Linked DNA regions of Homo sapiens: region 2 is linked to region 1. Evidence: promoter capture Hi-C in 16 types of primary human blood cells and fetal thymus (Javierre and others, 2016). All regions are on one chromosome and are shown on one strand. The core of a region is centred on a gene start or on the middle of the fragment in contact, and the rest is flanking DNA. Distances in the headings are between cores, read along the strand shown. Region 1 holds the start of RFT1 (RFT1 glycolipid translocator homolog). Region 2 overlaps STIMATE-MUSTN1 (STIMATE-MUSTN1 readthrough).

The links. The method cuts DNA at HindIII sites, captures the fragments that hold promoters and counts their contacts. A CHiCAGO score of 5 or more calls a contact.
Region 2: a contact is called between a fragment that was not itself captured here and the fragment with the promoter of RFT1 in region 1, in 1 of 17 cell types (naive CD4 T cells). The highest score is 5.2, in naive CD4 T cells.

Annotation. Positions count from the first base shown.
Region 1 is chr3:53,127,569-53,131,997 of GRCh38, reverse strand. It overlaps RFT1 (RFT1 glycolipid translocator homolog), which reads left to right and starts at 1,563. Exons shown (of 13, transcript NM_052859.4): 1 at 1,563-1,660. The coding sequence starts at 1,598. RefSeq lists enhancers at 1,158-1,207, 1,218-1,417, 1,458-1,507, 1,518-1,707. The HindIII fragment of the contact is 8,425 bases long and covers 1-4,429 here.
Region 2 is chr3:52,850,273-52,855,227 of GRCh38, reverse strand. STIMATE-MUSTN1 (STIMATE-MUSTN1 readthrough) reads left to right here. Exons shown (of 10, transcript NM_001198974.3): 3 at 2,530-2,625. STIMATE (STIM activating enhancer) reads left to right here. Exons shown (of 8, transcript NM_198563.5): 3 at 2,530-2,625. Among named protein-coding and RNA genes, the nearest start is that of MIR8064, 6.2 kb to the right of the region's middle. The HindIII fragment of the contact is 4,527 bases long and covers 1,245-4,955 here.

The sequences.
Region 1 (4,429 bases), core at 314-2,813:
AAACCAGGCAGGCTGCACTTCTGCCCTCTTGGAGCTCATGGGCTGATTATATAGAGACACATATTCTAGTCTTTCTGCTATAATGCAGATTGCATTAGGAACTATAAAGGGGTACAGAGTATTTTAGGGGTACTGTCTTGATTTGCTTGGGCTGCTGTAACAAAATACCATAGACTGGGTAAGTCAAAAACAGAAATTTCTCTCACAGCTCTGGAGGCTGGAAGCCCAAGATCAAGGTGCTAGCCAGTTTGGTTCCTGTTAAGTGTATGTTGGGCGCCTTACATTTTACAAAGCCTTCTTCGTGGTTGCAGACAGCTACATTCTTGCTGTATCCTCAAATAGTAAACACAGAGATCATTTTTCTGACATCTCTTTTTATAAGGACATGAATCCCATTATGACGGCTCCACTTTCAGGACCTAATTACTTCCCAAAGGCCTTACCTCCTAATACTATCACACTGGGGATTAGGCTTCAACATATGAATTTTGAGGGTACACAAACATTTAGTCCACAGCAGGTACCAGCTGTGGTTGGCCAGGAAAGTCAGGACAGTGTGGTCTAGGAGGGCAAGGGGTGCTGTCAGGGAAGACACTTTGGACAAAGAGGGTGGAGGAGCAAAGGCCAGTGAGTCACCGCCTGTTTGAGGACCAGTAAGGACTCGGAATGGCTATGGCCTAGATAGTGTTGGGAAGGGCAATGATCGTGTGAAAGGTAGTAGAAGATAGGTTGGGGCCAAATCATGTGAGGACTGAAAGAGATTGGGGAAAGACTGGGCTTCCTACAGCCTGCTTGGTAGATAATAAGAACACTGACAGAACAGCAGCTGATTGTGTATGTTGGGCGCTTTACATTTTTTTACAAAGCACTTCCAGTCCTTCTTCCACTCTGCCCTCACAATTTCTAGCATACAGGCAAGAGTGATAAGTTTAGGATCAGGAGCCTGGTATCCACTTAGTCAGGAAACAAGTTGTGTAGATTCGAACAAGTCACTTCCCATCTCCAAGGCTTTACTCATCTCTAACCACAGGGGCCAATTCTCAGAGCTTTCGGAAGGATTTCACAAAACCATACACATAACAGTGCTATATCTAACTTCTGGTCCTCAGTTCTTTCTCTGTTAAATGAGGACAATTCCTGTCCAGCCTAATTCAGAGGGTCTGTGGCTGTGATTCTGTAAGCAAAGGTCAATGGTGAGAATCTTCTTAACGGGCCAGTGAGAAGTTTGTTCCCCTTTTGGCAGATGAGGCCAGGAAAGTTAGTGCTTCTTGGTTGGTGGCTGAAAGCCTCAGAGAAGGAACTTTGGATTCTTTAACGGTATCTCTTAGTACTCGCCACACTATTTCGTTTATACGGGGAAGAGAGGGACAGACAGCGCACAAGCGACAGACAGCGCAAAACCTACCGAAATAGAAAGAGCCAGGCGCCATAACAGACGGCCCGAGACAGGCCCACTTAAAGGACCAGAACTTCTCGTGCCCCGCCCCCCTCTCTCAAGGCCATCAATCAGACAGCGAGGCGCGCCGTGACGCCATCTTATCGCGACTAAACGGAGTGGCGGCGGCATTTCCTGGTGTCTGAGCCTGGCGCGGAGGCTATGGGCAGCCAGGAGGTGCTGGGCCACGCGGCCCGGCTGGCCTCCTCCGGTCTCCTCCTGCAGGTACTCTCTGCCCTTCAGGTTCCAGCTTGTACTGCAGCCGGGATTCGCGGGATGGCAGCCCTTGGGCCCTTGAGAGCCTGCCCCAGGGCCGACCCAGTCCCGAGGTGGACCCCGCAATGGAGGGGGTGGGGGGGTCGACCGGAGACGGTGGCATTGATGAGGGGGGACCCTGGCCCGGAGATAGGAGCCTGCCTTTAGAGTCTAGGCCGGGTGACTGCAGACAAGCCGCTTTCCTTCTGAGCATTCTATTTCCCATATGGCAGTAGGAGTGAATTAGATCAGGTGGCGGGGGTGAGGGACTGGTATTTCGTGCTCGAGAATCTGATATTTTTCAGGCAAGGGGTTCATTTCCTTCATCAAACACCTTCCTCAAACTTTGAGTCCCACTGAGTTCCGAGAGTCCATATGGCATAGCTAAGAAGAGAAATCTGGAGTTAGGCTTGGATTGCTCCGTGACCCAGGACAAGTGACTTCACCTGCAGAGCCTGAGTTCCTCACTAGTAAAATGGGGGTAATAATATGTCGTACTTAGCTCATAAGCAGGGATTGATTGGGATCATTCAAATAAACGTACTTAACACAGTACCCGGCTCTTAGTATGCATTTAATACATGTTGGCTGCATCTTCTGTTTATGTGATCTTGGACAAGTCACTTCCCTTCTTGGCCCTAATTTTTGTCATCTGTCAGGTATGATACAGGCCAGTTAGTCCAAATGGTATCTGAAGATTCTTTCAACCCCAGGAGCTGAACCTCTTAAGTCAAGTGGCTCAGTATCTCTCTGTCTCACTCTTGAGCCAATCAACCCTACTTCACACAAGTCCCGAATCTACCCTACCCCTTATCTTAGAGAGGCACATGGAGGGCAGAAGAAAGAACCAAGCAGAATGGGGCTTGAGTTTGGGCCTTGTCACTTGCTAGATGCCTGCCTTCGGGATAAATCCGATGACTTCTGTATCAGTTTCTTCATCTTAAATGAGAATCATAGTGCAACCTCACAGGGTCATTAGGAAGATTAGATGAAATCATGCCTCTTAAGTGCCTGGCACACTACAAGTACTTAATAAATGTAGCTATTTTTATTAGGGTAATAAGTATTTTTAAAATAGTCAATGTAGGAATGAAATGAGATAACCTATGGAAAGCATGTTGAAGAGTGCCTTGCACGTGATATGTGCTTAGTAAATGTTAGCCATTCTAAGTTTACCTAGGGATTTTTTTTTTCTGTTTCACTACATAAATAACTGAGTTTATTGTTTTATCCACAATGTTGGTTTTTTTTCAGCCTTTGATAATATCTTACTACTCAGATAGGCTTCATAAAACGAAAACAAGTTATAACGGAAAACACACTGGACTACGAGTCAGGTGGCTTACCTGTAAGGTCAAGCTGGGTCATTTACTTGCCGTGTGACAGTGAGGAAATCACTTAACCCTCAGTCTTGCTTCCTGTGCATTTACCTCGTTGTTTTTAGTGTCAAATAATTTAACAGATGTGAGAGAGCCTTTTTGTTAAAACTGTAAAGTTGGCTGGACGCGGTGGCTCATGCCTGTCATCCCAGCACTTTGGGAGGCCAAGGCAGGAGGATTGCTTGAGCTCAGGAGTTGAAGACCAGCCTGGGCAACATGGTGAAACCTTGTCTTTACAAAAAATACAAAAATTAGATGGGCGTGGTGGCATGCACCTGTAGTCCCAGCTACTCAGGAGGCTGAGGTGGGATGATCTCGAGTCTGTGAGGTTGAGGCCTCAGTGAGCTGTGATTATGCCACTGCACTCCAGCCTGAGCAACAGAGTGAGACCCTGTCTTAAAACAAAAGCTGTAAAGTTCTTTGCAGAAGTAAATGAAGGCTGTGTTGCTAATAAGGACTGCAGTGTGTGGCAAATACTGGGTGGCGTAAGCAACCTCAGTTTCATTAGCTGCAACCTTTATTCAAACCAATTAGGAGACATGGATATGGCCTGGAACATTAAGTTTCTTAGACAGTGGTAACTTTGAGGTTAACATAAGTATGTACACATGGTGTTTTGTTTTTTGTTTTCGAGATGGAGTCTCACTCTGTTGCTCAGGCTGGAGTGCAGTGGCACTATCTCGGCTCACTGCAACATCCGCCTCCCGGGCCCAAGAGATTCTCAGGCCTCAGCCTCCCAAGTAGCTGGGATTACAGGTACCTGCCACCACACCTGGCTAATTTTTGTATTTTTAGTAGAGACAGGGTTTCACCATGTTGGACAGGCTGGTCTCGAACTTCTGACCTCAAGTGATCCACCTGCCTCAGCCTCCCGAAGTGCTGGCATTACAGGTGTGAGCTACCGCGCTCGGATTTTTTTTTTAATAACCATATTTTTATATGGTTTCTTGAGTGTTTTCATTCTTGTATGCTTTCTCGAATTACACTGTAGACACTTCAGGTAGCTTTGTGGTTACATTTTATTCTGCAAGAATTTGAGAGCTTGTTCTATCTTAATTCTAAGCCACCTATGCTGAAAGTATTAATGCCTTTCATTTGTATGCACTTAAAAAATGCTTTCACTTCTACAGTCTCATTTCTTTTAAAAATATTTCTTGTAGAGATGAGGTCTCACTGTGTTGCCCAGGCTGGTCTCAAATTCCTGGCTTCAAGTGATCCTCCTACCTTTCAGCCTCCCAAAGTGTTGGGATTTTCTTTTCTTTTTTTTTTTTTTTTTAAGATGGAGTCTAGCTCTGTCGCCCAGGCTTCACGCCATTCTCCTGCCTCAGCCTCCCGAGTAGCTGGGACTTACAGGCACCTG
Region 2 (4,955 bases), core at 2,259-4,758, 280 kb after region 1:
ATTATGAAAGCATTTTTGTTTCTCCAGGTAACTTTTGATCCTACCTTTATTTTAGAATCACTCTGCTTCCACTTCTAGAAGATGGAAGATACACAAATACATCAGTCCCCGATGCTGGCTCCTTCATCTATGTCTACCTGTTGTTAGATTTGGTTTAAATTCCTGGATTCTGTGTTCTGTATGTGCAAGCAAAAACTAGCCTAAATTTGGAGATCAAACATAGCATATAAACGCTCCTCTCTCCAAACGAGTCTTTCTTGGTCCTAGCATAAAGGAAAACTATTTCTCTACTCAAAATACTTCTGACACCAAATATATGAGGGTTTTCTTCCCCCAGCATCAACCAGCTTTCCAACTCTGCAAATACCACTTGGGTGTCCCATAATTTAATTCACTTCTGACACTTAACTACCTGGAGTTAGAACAGAATCCACAGGTTAAGGGCTCAGTCCCACAAACTGCCCCCTTCTTCATGCCAGTTGCAAGTAGTGGGGTCCTCAGGGTATCCACATTTCTGTCCAACTTTGCTATAAAGTCAGGGGTTCCCACAACCCCCACTTCCCCGCTAAGGTTCAGTAATTTGCTAGAACGGCTCATAAAACTCAGGGAAACATTTACTTACATTTACTGATTTATTATAAAGGACACAGATGAACGCTAGATGAAGAGGTGCATAGGGCGAGGTCCAGAAGTGTCCTGAGCACAGGAGTTGGGGTGTGCCCCCTTCCCAGCACATGGATGTGTTCACCAGCCCGGAAGCGCTCCAAATCCCATTGTTTAGGGATTTTTATGGAGGGTTCATCATGTAGGCATGATTGATTGTTAACTCAGTCTCCAGCCCCTCCCTTCTCCCTGGAGGGTGGGGGATTAGGGCTGAAAGTTCTAAGTTTCTGATCATGACTTGGTCCTTTTGGTGACTAGCCCCATCCTGAAGCTATCTAGGAGCCCACTAAGACTTCCTTCATTAGAGCAAAAGGCTCCTGTCTTCCGGGAAATTCCATGAGGTTTAGGTGCTCGTATCAGGACCAAGGCCAGAGACCAAATACTAGAACAAAAACTCCTCTTAGCACCTGTGTTACTCAGGAGATTACAAGTGTTTTAGGAGCTCTGTGTCAGAAACCAGGACAGAGACCAAATACATATATTTCTTAAATAGACTTTGATATATACATCAAGCATATATTTATTTCACAGATTATGATCCTGCAGTCACAATTTTTCCTTCGTGAAATGGTGGTAAAGCTTCAGAAGTAGGTTCTAAAGACAAAACTCCAAAATAATACATCACTTGGAAGGATACAGTCAGCTCTTCAAGACAGCACTGTGTCCACAAGAAGCTGCCTGTTTTAGGCTGCCTTGGGCTTCTACATTTCCTAACAAAATAGCCATTTTATCCTTCAGAGGAAACGTCAGTAATCACTGTGATAAAATTATTAAGCGTGTACTTGTTCTTAAACGTGTTGCTGGCGAATTTGATAATTCTTTTTATTTTCCCCCCGTTGATTTTTCTCAAACCCTGTTAACTTTAGAATGTGTGACTCCCACCTCAGGGCTGGGGCAGGACCTGGTGGGAGACCTAGCTTTGGGGCTCTCTTGAGTCTTACATACGTTGTCCTTTGGTAACTCCTCCTTTGCAGTGAGTCTAGGGAATGATTTTCCAGCCACCGTCGCTGGGTTGGTCTGGATAATCTCTGCAGTCCTGAGACCCTGCCCAGCTGGGCGGCTGTGAGAGACAGCCATGACCAAGAGGTGCCTCGACCACAGAGGAGAATGGCTACCTGGTGCTGGTGGTGGAGGACATACTGAAGGCACACGCTGTCTCCACCATGCTCCTGTCACATGGGTCGGGGTTAGCTCCTCTCAGAGATTAACACCCTTGTTTTTTCTTTTTTGAAATGCTTACCATCTAGTCCAGGGGCTGGCACACTACAGCCCTCAGGCCCGGTGTGTATGATTGGAATAGCTGTGTCTATGACTGCATCATTCTCTAGCGGCAGGGCTGAGGAATTGAGACAGAGATCATATGGCGCACAAAACCTCAAATATTTATTCTTTGGTCCTTTACAGAAAAAATTTGCCTACCCTGATCTAGCCCATTGTTTAAATGGCAGCAGCTGAAATTTCTTTAGGGATCCAGCTGCAGTACTGGATTTGTGCACGTCTTGTTAATTTCACACATAATTTAGCTCATTGTGAGTGAAGTTGAATGGGAGCTCTTTAAAATAGAGGCACCTTGGGCTTCATCACAAAGCAGCGATTGAGCATTTTATTTTGAAGTAAGAAAAAAATTTAAAACGTATTTTAAATATCAATCCTTGACCTTTTAGGGTTTTCAAAGGCAGTGTTATTGAAGGCTTTGAAAGGTGGCTGAGATGCCAAGCCTGAGTTAGTGCTCAAGGCCCCAGGAAGAGATAACCAGTGATTGGAAGGTTGGGGTGGCTTTCTTCCTGTTTCAGTCTTCTCGTTTTCCTCAAATTGGATATTGCGCTCCTGTCAGGCTAATAACCAGTGCTGGTTTATTTTGTACAGGTTTTTAGACACTTCCAAACAAGCCATAGGAATGCTGTTCATCCACTTTGCAAATGTATACCTAGCAGATCTCACTGAAGAGGACCCTTGTTCACTGTAAGTGTTCCCTATTTGAGTGCAAACATCAGCTGCCCCTCCATTGAAAATATAGGCTGGCCTTGCTTTCTGCTGCTGGTCCTGCTCCCTCTGGCTTGGGGAGAGGGTGCTCCCCTTTTCCTCTGTGCTCCTCTGAGAGACCATCCTGTACATGCTGTCCTGGAGCTCACTTACACAGCTATCAGTTGGCTTGTAGGGCTTTGCGTGTTGACACTTTCCCCATGCACTGGCTTTCTGTTCATCAATCCAAGTTCTGTCCTTTGATTTTCTAGTGTCCTTATGTCTCCCAGTTTCCAAGCCGCCCCTGGCAAGGAAGGATAATGCCCTACAGGAGTGTCTCTGCTCTGGAACCAGGACACACCAGGGCTTCTCTGTGGCGTCAGCCATTCAGGGTCAAAACTGTTGTTGACCCTCATTGACCTCTTCCACCTTATCATTGCAATGTGCCTTCCATGCAGCCCCCAGAGCAATCCATCTGTGACCTCAATCCGGCCATGATATTCTGTCCTCCTTGCTGATGGCACCCACATAGTGCTTCTCTTAGCAGGTGGAGTGGCAGAGGAGGCTTGCCTACCTCATCCTGGCCCCATCTTCTGCCTCCCTTTGTCCTCATAGCAGCCTGCCATATATTAATGGAGACTTTGATCATCCCCATTTTACAGTGGTGGAACTGAGGCACAGAGAGGTTATATATACTGTAAGTTCACACCGCTCAGGAGTCATGGAGCCCAGCCAGTCTGGCTTCCAGGGCCCACATGATGCTTTGCTGTCTGTCAGAATCATCTGTGTTGAGGATGGAACATAGAACTTTCTCTCTTTATTCCCAAGGCATGGCACACAGTAGGCTTGTAAATGTTTGCTAAGTGAATGAATGAAAGTAAGGTCTGTATGTACATCACATGTCCTTGTTCTCGCAGGCGTGAGATGCTTTGGACACAAAGTATCTGAGAGCAGCATAGCCTCAGGCCAGAGGGAAATTGCCTTGGAAGCAGTTGCTGCTCCTGCCATCTCTGGTCTAAGAGTGACCCCTTGTGATTTTACAGAGGAAGGGCAGGCAGGAGAAATGCCCCCTCCCTCTTTTCACTGGTTTTCCTGCTGACCTACCCTAGCACAGGCTGCGCCCTCTGGCATCAGAGTGCTGTGTGCACATCACCAAAGCTCCAGCCCAGGATAGGAGGCTGTGAGACTACACAAAATGTCTCAAGCCTCAGCAACTGGAAAGCTCACCACACCTGGAGTGTGTGGTGTCCTGCAGCTTACCTGCAAGGATTTCAGAGCCACATGGTATCGTAGAGGGTCAGTACTGGACCCAGTGCCCTTGTCTCCCACTCTGTCTACCATGGAGAGCTGGAGCTTGTGGTCAGCAGTGCTCAGCTGGATCTGGGTACAAGGCCCTCAAGAGAGGGTGAGTGGAAAAGGGCCTTTCTTTGGTGAGAGAAAAAATTTTGTGTCGGATGGAAACAGACCGTACAAGAACACAGTTCATGTGGTATGCCCTTCAGAGCCTCCTCCTCTCACTCCCCCAGTTATCTTGCCTTTTCCCATGGGGAGTAAAGCTCGCTCTTTAAAGTGTAGGCCGGGCACGGTGGCTCAGGCCTGTAATCCCAACACTTTGGGAGGCCAGGGTGGGCATATCCCTTGAGGCCGGGAGTTCAAGATCAGCCTGGCCAACATGATGAAACCCTGTCTCTACTAAAAATACAAAAATTAGCTGTGTGTGGTGGTGGGTGCCTGTAATCCCAGCTACTTGGGAGGCTGAGGCAGGAGAATCACTTGAACCCAGGAGGCGGAAGCTGCAGTGAGCTGATTGCACCGCTGCACTCCAGCATGGGCAATAGAGGGAGACTCCATCTCAAAAAAAGAAAAAAACAGTGTAAAAATATTACTTATGCTTGACTGCAGATGGGGATGGGCGAAGGCCATGTTGCCCTGTCCTCTTTGTCTGCGAAACCCGAGAGGCTGTTTTCCTGAACCTCTCTGGTGCAGCAGCACTGTTCTGGGCCTCCTGGGCTGGACTGTCAGGGAGTGAGCAGAATCATTGCCTAGGTGTTTCTGTCATCAGTTAAGTTCTGTTTCCTGTTGATTTCCCTGGCTGCTTCCAGGTACTCTGTCTTCCATTGAACCTTCGCCTGGCAGAAGCACTGGCAGGTTTTTGTTTTGTTTTGTTTTTTTGAGACAGAGTCTTGCTGTGTCACCACGCTGGAGTGCAGTGGTGCAATCTCAGCTCACTGCAACCTCCACCTCCCGGGTTCAAGTGATTCCCCTGCCTCAGCCCCCCGAGTAGCTGGGACTACAGGTGCGCGCCACCACGCCCAGCTAATTTTTTTGTA